Regions from separate parts of the Homo sapiens genome. Here region 2 is linked to region 1. The links are contacts of gene promoters, found by promoter capture Hi-C in blood cells and fetal thymus (Javierre and others, 2016). All regions are on one chromosome and are shown on one strand. The core of a region is centred on a gene start or on the middle of the fragment in contact, and the rest is flanking DNA. Distances in the headings are between cores, read along the strand shown.

Region 1 (5,883 bases), core at 1,042-3,541:
GGCGTATGTTAAATTATCGAGCTTGTTATCTTTCCTGGGAAGTGATTATCATTTGTTTCTCTTGTGACAGCGGGGAGTGTTCTGCATGAGGAACTAATATGATACCAGAAAAACAGGTGAAATGCCAGTTACAGAAACTTATTACCAACGACTATCTAATAACTGCGATGACAGAAATAGGTCAATTGAAACATGAGTGGATGGTGAAAAAAATTTACACTTCACAGAAGTTTTTCTTTCTTTTTTTTTTTTTTTTTTTTTGAGACAAAGTCTCGTTCTGTCCCAGACTGGAGTGCAGTGGCGCCATCTTGGCTCACTGCAACCTCCACCTCCCGGGTTCAAGCGATTCTCCTGCCTCAGTCTCCCAAGTAGCTGGGATAACAGATGCCTGCCACCACGCCCAGCTAATTTTTGTATTTTTAGTAGAGACAAGGTTTCACCATGTTGGCCAGACTGGTCTCAAACTCTTGACCTCTGACCTGCCTGCCTCCTTCTCCCACAATGCTGACATTACAGGCATAAGTCACTGCTCCCAGCTGACTTTACAGGTGTTTGTTTGTTTGTTTGTTTGTTTTGAGAAGGAGTTTCACTCTTGTTGTCCAGGCTGGAGTACAATGGCACAGTTTCAGCTCACTGCAACCTCCTCCTCCTGGGTCAAGCAATTCATTCTCCTGCCTCAGCCTCCCAAGTAGCTGGGATTACAGGTGCCTGCCACCACACTCAGCTAATTTTTGTATTTTCAGTAGACACAAGGTTTCACCATTTTGGCCAGGCTGGCCGCAAACTCCTCACCTCAGGTGATCCACCCGAGGTGGCCTCCCAAAGTGCTGGGACTACAGGTGTGAGCCACCTCGCCCGGCCCAGAAGTTTTAACAGTGATGTCTACGAAGAGATGGAATTAAGGTCAGCATGTGATTAAAAATGTCCCCCTTGTTGGTTTTGTCATTGAGATTTTTTTTTCTTTATTAAAAACATTGAACAATACCAAGGTGGAGAAAAATTGTGCCTGTTCACCTACCTACTTGGGAGGCTTAGAGGGAGGATCACTTCTGCAAAGGAGTTTGAGGCCAGCCTGGGCAGCAGAGCAAGACTCTGTCTCCAAATAAATAATTTAATGAATAAGTAAAAACAGAAGGTGAAATCTGCAGTATAGTATTATCCTCATAGAATTGTGTCTCCCTTTCTTCATTATTCTGTGTGTCAATTATGTTACAAGTTTTTCATCTTATAGGAAAAAAGTCATAGATTCTATACACATCTGTACTTTTTCTCACTTAGCAATATGGTTTGAACAATGAAAAGCTTCTTTTTCACTTCACATTTGAAATCTGCTTATCTCCACATTCTATTTTTTTCTCCCCTTTTTGAGACAGCGTCTCACTCTGTTGCCAAGGCTGAAGCGCAGTGGCATGATCAAGGCTCAACTGCAGTCTCAACCTCTCAGGCTCAAGTGATCCTCCCATCTCAGCATTCAGGAGTAATTGGGACTATAGGCATGCACCACCACAACCAGCTAATTTTTGAGAGATGTGGTTTTGCCATGTTGCCCAGGCTGGTATCAAACTCCTGAGTTCAAGCAATCCTCCTGCCTCGGCCTCCCTAAGTGCTGGCATTATAGGATTCGGCCACTACACCTGGCCTATTCATCTTTTTCTGATGTAGAACCCACTCAGTGACAGTGTAATCAAGAATCAAGAAAGAGGCCAGATGCAGTGGCCATGCCTGCAATCCCAGCACTTTGGGAGCCTAAGGTGGGCAGATCACTTGAGGTCAGGAGTTTGAGACCAGCCTAGCCAACATGGCAAAAACCCGTCTCTACTAAAAATACAAAAATTAGGTGGGTGTGGTGGCGCACATCTGTAATCCCAGCTACTCGGGAGGCTGAGGCAGGAGAATTGCTTGAACCCGGGAGGCAGAGGTTGCAGTGAGCTGAAATCGTGCCACTGCACTCCAGCGTGGACAACAGAGCAACTCCGTCTCAAAAAAAAATAGAGCCAGAATACAATACACAAGCAACTGAAGTATTTCAACAGCAAAGAAACCCTCAAACAATCCAATTTAAAAATGTCAAACGATCTGAATAGGCATTTTTCAAAAGACAACATACAAACGGTCAAAAATATATTAAAACACACTCATCACTATCTGGGAAATGCAAATCAAAACCGCAATGAGGTATCACTCTCCCCGTTTAGGATAATTATTATCAAAAAGACAAAAACAGACGCTGGCAAGGATGCAGAGAAAAGGGAACTAATGGCCAGGTGCGGTGGCTCACATCTGTAATCCCAGCACTTTGGGAGGCCGAGCTGGGTGGATCACGAGGTCAGGAGTTCGAGACTGCCTGACCAACGTGGTGAAACCCTGTCTCTACTAAAAATGCAAAAATTAGCCAGGCGTGGTGGTGCGTGCCTATAATCCCAGCTACTCAGGAGACTGAGGCAGGAGAATAGCTTGAACCCGGGAGACGGAGGTTGCAGTGAGCCAAGATCATGCCACTGCACTCCAGCCTGGGCGACAGAGAAAGACTCCATCTCAAAAAAAAAAAAAAACCCAACAAAATACAAGAAAAGGGAACTCATGCACTGGTGGTGCAAATGCAAACCAGTACAGCCATTATGGAGAACAGTATTGAGGTCCCTCTAAAAACTACAAATATGCCAGGCGCGATGGCTCACGCCTGTAATCCCAGCACTTTGGGAGGCTGAGGCAGGCGGATCACGAGGTCAGGAGTTCGAGAACACCCTAACCAACATGGTGAAACCCCGTCTCTTCTAAAAATACAAAAATTAGCAGGGGTGGTGGCACGCACCTGTAATCCCAGCTACTCAGGAGGCTGAGGCAGGAGAATTGCTTGAACCTGGGAGGCGGAGGTTGCAGTGAGCCAAGATCACACCACTGCACTCCAGCCTGGATAACAGAGTGAGACTCTGTCTCAAAAAACAAAACAAAACAAAACAAAAAACTACAAACACAACTACCATATCATCCAGCAATCCCCCTACTGGGAATTTATCCAAAGGAAAGAAAATCATCACATTGGAGACACATCTACACCCCGTTTACTGCAGCACTATTCACAATAGCCAAAATATGGAATCAACCTAGATGTCCAACAACAGATAAATGGATAAAGAAAATGTGGTTTATACACACAAAGGAATACTATTCAAAGAACAGAATGAAATCCTATCACCTGAGGCAACATGGATGGAAATGGAGGACATTATTTAAGTGAAATAAGCCAGGAACATAAACATGCACATTCCCACTCATATGTGGAAGCTTTAAAAAAAAAAAAAAAAAGCTGGGTGCGGTGGCTCACGCCTGTAATCCCAGCACTTTGGGAGGCTGAGGCGGGTGGATCACCTGAGGTCGGGAGTTCAAGACTAGCCTGACCAACATGGAGAAACCCTGTCTCTACTAAAAATACAAAATTAGCCGGGGTGGTGGTGCATGCCTGTAATCCCAGCTACTCAGGAGGCTGAGGCAGGAGAATCGCTTGAACCCAGGAGGCAGAGGCTGCGGTGAGCCAAGATCATGCCACTGCACTCCAGCCTGGGCAAAAAGAGTGAAACTCCATCTCAAAAAAAAAAAAAAAAAAAAAAAAAAAAAAAGCCTGGGAGACAAAGCAAGACTGTCCCCCACCCCCACAAAAAAAAGTTGATCTCTTAGAAGTAAAAAGTAGAACAGAGGATACTAGAGGCTGGGAAGGGTAGTGGGTAGGCAGGAATAGACAAAGATTGGTTACAAGCTACAAAATTACAACTAGACAGGAGGAATAAGTTCTAGTGTTCTATACCACTACAGGAGAACTAAAGTTAATAATATATAATTTCAAGTTGTTAGGAGAATGGCAATTGAGACTGACTGTTCCCAATATAAAGGAATGACGAATGTTTGAGGTGATGGATATGCTAATTACTCTGATCACTCTAAGTTATAGGTATCAAAACATCACTATGTACTCCAGGAACATGTACAATTATAATTTGTCCATTTAAACACAAAGAATTTTTTTAAAAAAAGAAACCATTTGGTTTTCTGTGTGGATATGAGACAAAGTAGTATGTACACATATAAACTTATTTGTATAAAACAAAATTCAGAGAACATATACTAAATATAAAACATGGTTATTGAAAATACGTATTTATTTATTTATGTCTGTGAATTTTGCAGGGACACTTCTCAGTCCGTAACAGCCCTATGTGTGTTACCTAACCTTTATCCCTTGTGAACGTTCTGATGTTTTAGGAGGTTGGAGTTGAAGGTAAAAAATTTTCCACAGTCACTACACTCATAAGGCCTTTCCCCACTGTGAATTCGCTGGTGATTAGTGAGGTTAGAGCTCTGGCTAAAGGATTTTCCACATTCACTGCATTCATAAGGCCTTTCTCCGGTATGAACTCTTCGGTGTTTAACGAGGCTAGAGTGGTTACTAAAGGATTTCCAACACTCACTGCACTCATAAGGCCTTTCTCCGGTGTGACTTCTCCTATGTCTAATGAGGCTGGAGCTCTGGCTAAAAAACTTCCCACATTCATTGCACTCATAAGGCCTTTCTCCAGTGTGAACTCTCTGGTGTTGAAGGAGCGTAGAGCTATGAGTAAATGATTTCCCACACTCCCCACATTCATAAGGCCTTGCTCCAGTATGAACTTTCCAGTGTGAGATGAGGTAGGATTTACAGGTAAAGGATTTTCCACATTCACTGCACTCATATGGCCTTTCTCCTGTGTGAACTCTCTCATGTACAATGAGGTCAAATTTCCTGCTAAATAATTTTCCACATTCATGACATTCATGAGATCTTACTCCAGTATGAACTCTCTGGTGTTGGAAGAAACGAGATCTATAAGTAAACAATTTCCCACATTCACTACACTCATAAGGCCCTTCTCCAATGTGAAGTCTCCGGTGTTTAATGAGGTGACAGCTCTGGCTAAAGGATTTCCCACATTCACTGCACATATAAGGCCTTGTACCAGTGTGAACTCTCTGGTGTGTAATAAGGCTAGAACTATGGATAAAAGATTTCCCACATTCACTGCACTCATAAGGCCTCATTCCAGTATGAATTCTCTGGTGTGTAATGAGGCTAGAGCTATGGCTAAAGGATTTCCCACATTCACTGCACTTGTAAGGCCTTTCTCCAGTATGAACTCTCTGATGTATAAGAAGGTCATACTTCCTGTTAAATAATTTTCCACATTCATCACATTGATGAGGTCTTACTCCAGTGTGAATTCTTCGGTGCGTAATAAGGCTAGAGCTTTGCCTATAGGATTTCCCACATTCTCCACATGTATAAGGCTTTTCTGAAGTGTGAACTCTCAAATGATCACTGAGGCTACAGCTTGTGCTAAAAGATTTCCCACATTCACTGCACATGTAAGATCTTTCCCTAATGAGGTCTCCCTGGTGCTGAACACGTACATGTTTGTAGCTGAAAGCTTTCACACATTCTCCCCAGTTGTAATGATTTTTTACACTGTGAAAGGCCACTGCACTCTTGGTTCTGTTTGACTTCTTTCTGGTGTGAGCAGCCTGTTGCTGAAGAAATCTTGATCTCACCAGGAAATCCTTCCCAACCTCCTTGCAAGTGAAGGGCTTCCCAGATACTTCAAATGTGCAGCTGCTCAAAAACATGTCTCTGCCCCCATTGCTTCTGAAGTGTTTCTGTCCAACATGCTGCTTCTGGTGCTGATGAAGGTATGCAGTAAATTGTAATTGTTTCCTACATGCCCCGTCTGTATACAGTTTCTGACCATGGTGTGTTCCTTGGTGTTCAACCAAGTGCAAAATCTGTCTCAAGACTGGGCCACATATCTCACAGGGGTTGGTCTTCTGGGGAGAAGGAAGGGCCTTAGGAATCCTAAC
Region 2 (5,883 bases), core at 1,129-3,628, 410 kb before region 1:
TGCAAGCTCTGCCTCCTGGGTTCATGCCATTCTCCTGCCTCAGCCTCCCGAGTAGCTGGGACTACAGGCGCCACCACCACGCCCGGCTAATTTTTTGTATTTTTAGTAGAGACGGGGTTTCACCATTTTGGTCAGGCTGTCTCGAACTCCTGACCTCAGGTGATCCGCCTGCCTCGGCCTCCCAAAGTGCTGGGATTACAGGCGTGAGCCACCACGCCCGACCCGTAAAACTCTTAAAATAAGAGGATCATGGCCGGGTGCAGCGGCTCTTGCCTGTAATCCCAGCATTTTGGGAGGCTGAGGTGGGCCGATCACCTGAGGTCGGGAGTTCGAGACCAGCCTGACCAGCATGGAGAAATCCCGTCTCTACTAAAAATACAAAATTAGCTGGGCGTGGTGGCACATGCCTGTAATCCCAGCTACTAGGGAGGCTGAGGCAGGAGAATCGCTTGAACCTGGGAGGTGGAGGTTGCAGTGAGCCGAGATCGTGCCATTGCACTCCAGCCTGGGCAACAAGGGCGAAACTCCATCTCAAAAAAAAAAAATAATAAAAAAATAAAAGGATCAGAAATAAATAATAGTGGAGACAAACGATTGTGATGCCCTACCTTGTTTTAACCTGATTGTCTCTCTCAGCTGAGAGAGCCAAACAGACTCCATTTTTGTTTCTTCACTTGCAGCCCCCTTATCCCCCTCCCTTAAGGACATAACTAGTGCAAGCTGACTCCAAGCACATCCAGGAATGCACTTACTGATAGACACTGAGGCACGCTGTACCAGCAGCTCCTAGGAACGCACTCAGTTAATGGTACCCAAAGCCCCTGCGTTTATCACTTTGTGATAATTAAGCCCCTGCACCTGGAACTGTTTATTTTCCTGTAAATGTTTGTGTAACCATTTATCTTTTAACTTTTTGCCTGTTCTGCTTCTGTAAAAATTGCTTCAGCTAAACTCCCCCTCCCCTATTTAGATCAAGGTATAAAAAGAAATCTAGCCCCTTCTTCGGGGCCAAGAATTTTGAGCTCTAGCTGTCTCTCGGTCGCTGGCAATAAAAGGACTCCAGAATTAGTCTCAGAGTGTGGCATTTCTCTATAACTCGCTCGGTTACAACACTATAGCCAAAGATTACATTCATAAAGATATTTTTACAATATAGGTGTCTTATTTAATATGACTCCAATCTAAATGGTAATTTTTCTAACCTTTCTTAAGTAATTATAAAATGTCAAAATTATAAACAATTAAAAACTAAAGAGAAATGAAGACAATGGATAGCAACAAAAGCTAATTGCTAAATATGGGGGAAAAAAGCCAGGCATGGTGGCTCATGCTTGTAATCCCAGCACTTTAAGGCAGGCGAATCACTTGAGGCCGGTTCTAGACCAGCCTGGCCAACATGGTGAAACCCTGTCTCTACTAAAAATACAAAAATTATCCGGGGGTGGTGGCGCATGCCTGTAGTCCCGGCTACTCGGGAGGCTGAGGCAGGAGAATCGCTTGAACCTGGGAGGTGGAGGTTACAGTGAGCAGAGATTGCACCACTGTACTCCAGTCTGGGCGACAGAGTGAGACTCTGTCAAAAAAAAAAAAGGAAAAAAAGAAAAGAAAAAGAAGATATAATGTTTCTGCAATCTCATTTCAGTTCCACTTATGATAATAGATACATTATGTAATTTAAGTCACTAACACTTGAGGGCAAAAAAACAGAATAAACACAAACGTGTGGGATAAGGGGATGCTGACCCCACTGTTAGTGATCACCTTGGTTGGAGACCCAGGTTTTATCATACAGATGAAGCCTGCAGGTAGCAAGTTTCAGAGAAATAGATTGTAAATGTTTCTTATCAGACTTAAGGTCTATGCTGATGTTATTGCTGTAGGGGTAGAATGAGGCATGTCCAACCCCTTCTTCCATAATGGCCTGAACTAGATTTTCAGGTTAACTCTATAATGCTGAGAGGAGGGGGTCCATTCAGATAGTTGGGAGGCCTTTGAATTTTATTTTTGGTTATAGTTTCTACATTAAAAAAAAGAAAAAAATTAAGGGTCGCGTCAATTCTCAATTGTCAACATTTTTAATGTATTGTATGCAATATATGTCAACTTTTGTGTTGAGAAATGAAGATCAAATCGTATTCTTTTATCCTGTGTATGTAATAGGCTTTGCTGACCCTAGTTTGATGGGTTTTTTCCTTTGTCCTCTCTTTCTTGGATTGAGTCCTCACAGCGCGGCGGACTGCGGCGTGGTAGGAACTACACCACCCAGAATACTGTGCGCCGAGCGTGCCGGGGCCTTAGACCAATCATTGCCCAGGAAAGGGGCACCTCCGTAAGTGCGCAATACGCCAGAATCTTCCGGCGTCTTTCCGGTGGTGGTCGTTTTTGCTGCCTGCGAGCGCGTCCGCGGGCTGGGCGTTTCCGGCTCGCTGGGTCCGGGCCAGGTAACTGGAGCCGGAAACCGGTGGAGGTGGTGTCCGCCCGCAGAGGAGCTTGCCTGGTCTCGGTCTGAGCGTCGCCCAGCGATTTGCCACCGCACGCACGCCGGATCCCGGGCTTTACCGCCCGCCTTTCCAGGCCCCGCCCCGCCTAAAGTCCCATGGCCGAGGCAGCGCTAGTGATTACGCCGCAGGTGAGAGCGGAGTCCTCGGATCCTCACCTGGGTCCTGAGGCCCCGGACTGGGGTCACCTGCGTGGGTCTCTGCAGTTCAGGCCTCTTCTCCAGGACAGCGAGGAGTTCTGGGTGGGGTCCTCAGAGCTGACGGGCGGTGAGGTGAAGAAGGGAGAGCGTTGCGTACCGTGGGGGCTGCACGCGCAGAGCCTGGGAGGTGCGCCGGGGTCGCGAGCATTCGGAAACTTGGGGGCGGACCTGTGTCTGCAGGGAGCAGAGAGAATGAGGAGAAGAAGGCACGGCTGCCATGGCAGCCTGAGCAACCGGGGTTTTTAATTCTGAGTCTTTGGGAGCCATGGAGGGTTGTGAACTAAAGGAGAACACGATCTGAGTGAGGGTCTGAAAAAATATTTCAAAGGCAATGAGTGGAGAAAACAGACTGTTACGGAGTGATGGGGGTGGACGCAGGGATACTGGTGAGGAGACTGCTGTAGTAGGCTCCAGGAGGATTATGGTGGATTCTGGACCAGACGGGTTGCTGAAGGGACCTAAGTAATAAGAATCTTGGTAGATCTTAAAGGTAAAGCCAGCAGGATTTTCTGCTCCATCATTTGTGCCTATGAGCAAAAGTGGGAGTGAAGTATGATCCCAAGTTTTTCTTTTACCTGAACATCTGGAAGAGTTGACAAAGAAATCTGGTGAGGGAGCAGGTTTCAGGGAAATAGTAGGAGTTGAATTTTGGACGTGGTGTTTCTAAATTGCCACAGAGTGAAGTTGTTACATGGGCAGTTGGAATCATAAGTAGAAAATTCATGGGAGGGGACTGACTCAGTGATGTGTAAATGGAGACAGGCTGGGGCGTAGACTCAAGCCAAGCCTTAAATTTAGACGGGAAATCTTAAGGTTTTACTTTGAGATGAAGAGAGGGAGGGCTGAGGCTGGAGGCTGGGAAAGTGTGGGTCGGCCTTGGCGAAGCTGCCTGCAGATAGGAGGGCCATGGGGTTCCGGGGGTACTTCCAAAGGGAATGTGTAAGGAATACACACTGCATAGGATGGATTTGAGGGTGGGACACTGTGTAGAGTCACCATTCAGAAGACTTGGCGAACTGTTCACTCTATGTGGAGCCAGAGAAAGGTCAGCCAGACTAGCAGAGAAGCCCAAGCCCAGCAAGAGCAGCTCTCCCAGGAAAATACAAGTTTAGACTGTATAGATTTAACAAATTAAATTTATGCAAGCAATTAGTTAACCGAATAAAATGTCACTATAACTCTGTGCTCTAATAAAAAATAAATGTTTGTTTTTTGTCATGCTTTCCTGGCACAGAATTCCTAAAATCGTTGTAATTTCCTCAGTGAAAAGTGTCTTGTGATAAGTCATGGACCGCATAACAACAGTGTTGACCACATCAGTGACGGTGGTCCCATAAGATTATGATACCATATTTTTACTGTACCTTTTCATTTTCTTTCTTTCTGATCAGGAGGCAAACTGCATTTTCTAAGTTTATAAATGTTTAAATGCACAAATAATTATCACTGTGTTACAGTTGCTGACAGTATTTAGTATAGTAACTTGCTGTACAGGTTTGTAGCCTAGGAGCAATAGGCTATACCATTTAGTAGTTGAACAATGAATGTCTGAACAGTAGTTCCCCCTTATCCTCAGAGGATACCTTTCAAGAACCCCAGCGGAGGCTTGAAACTGCAGATAGTACCCAACCTATATATACTATGTTTCTTCCTAGACTACATACCTGTAATAAAATCCAGTTTATAAATGAGGCAGTATAGGAGATGAACAATAATAACTGGAAATAATATAGAACAGTTATACTTTATAAGTTAATAAAAGTTAAGTAACTGCAGTTGAGACAATAAAAAAGCAAAAGTTAAATTATAAAAAACATGTGAATGTGGTATCTCTCTAAATATCTTACTGTACTATTCACCCTTGTGATGAAGAAGGGACTAAACTCGATAGAGTGAGATTTCCTCACACTACTTACAATGGTGCACTGTTGGCCAGCGCAGTGGCTCACACCTGTAATCCCAGCACTTTGGGAGGCTGAGGCAGGCAGATCACAAGGTCAGGAGATCGAGACCATCCTGGCTAACATGGTGAAACCCCGTCTCTACTAAAAATACAAAAAATTAGCCAGGTGTGGTAGTGGGCGCCCGTAGTCCCAGCTACTCCGGAGGCTGAGGCAGGAGAATGGTGTGAAGCTGGGAGGCAGAGCTTGCAGTGAGCCGAGATTGCACCACTACACTCCAGCCTGGGCGACAGAGCGAGGCTCCGTCTCCAAAAATAAATAAATAAAATAAATAAATAAATAAATAAATAAAGGATGGTGCACTATTTAAAACATGAATTGTTTATTTCTGGAATTTTAATATTACTATTTTCAGACTGAAGTTGAAATTTAATACTTATAATTTTCACACTGAAGTTGAGTGTGGGTAACTGAAACTGCAAATAGCAAAACAGCTGATAAGGGAAGACTTCTATACTTGAGTTTTATGAGATGGCTTAGGGTGAGCAGACAAGGTGGAGTCTCTAGATAGCCTCAGAGTGGAGTCAGTCACCAGAAAAATCAAGTGATTATAGAATTTGAACTTTGAGCCCCACCTCTGGCATCCAGGGAGGGGAGCAGAGATCTGGAGATTAGGTTATATAAAATCTTGAACAATGAGTTCTAGAAGCTTCAAGGTTGTGAACACTTGGAAGTGCTGGGAGAGTGACGTAAGAGAGCGTGGAAGTACTCTGCCTTACCCCCTCTCCCAGTACCTTGCCATATGCATCGCTTCCATTTGGCTGTTCCTGAGTTACATCCATTATCATAAACTGGTAAACATAAGTAAAATATTTTCCTGAGTTCTGTAAGTGGTTCTAGCAAATTATTGAACGTAAGGAGAGAGGTCATGGCAGCCCCCAAATGTGTAGCCAAGTGGAGAAAATTACAGTGGTCTGGACATTGGCTTGCAATTGCCATATGAAGTGAGGGCAGTTTTGTACGACTGAGCCCTTAAACCTGTTGGTTTAGCTGCAACTCCAGGTAGTTAGTGTTAGAATAGGATTGAATTGTAGGACACCTAGTTGGTATCAGAATCAGAGAATGGTGTGGGAAAAGACACTACATATTTATTATCAAAGAAGCACAGAAGCCTCTCATAATTTGAAAAGATACCACATTCACATAAAGACTTAAATGGCAAGTAAGAAACACCAGAGTTTTAAAAAATGTTTACAGAAATCTTAATGCAATAGTCAGTACTAG

What was found. Contacts are between HindIII fragments. The CHiCAGO score rates a contact against its expected background, and 5 or more counts as called.
Region 2: the fragment with the promoter of ZNF549 here is called in contact with a fragment that was not itself captured in region 1 in 1 of 17 cell types (non-activated CD4 T cells); the score reaches 6.2 in non-activated CD4 T cells.

What each region holds. Positions count from the first base shown.
Region 1 is chr19:57,936,697-57,942,579 of GRCh38, forward strand. ZNF256 (zinc finger protein 256) reads right to left here. Exons shown (of 3, transcript NM_005773.3): 3 at 4,137-5,883. The coding sequence ends at 4,228. Among named protein-coding and RNA genes, the nearest start is that of ZNF418, 4.2 kb to the left of the region's middle. The HindIII fragment of the contact is 1,983 bases long and covers 1,301-3,283 here.
Region 2 is chr19:57,524,978-57,530,860 of GRCh38, forward strand. ZNF549 (zinc finger protein 549) reads left to right here and starts at 2,379. Exons shown (of 4, transcript NM_001199295.2): 1 at 2,379-2,629. The coding sequence starts at 2,597. The HindIII fragment of the contact is 12,430 bases long and covers 1-5,306 here.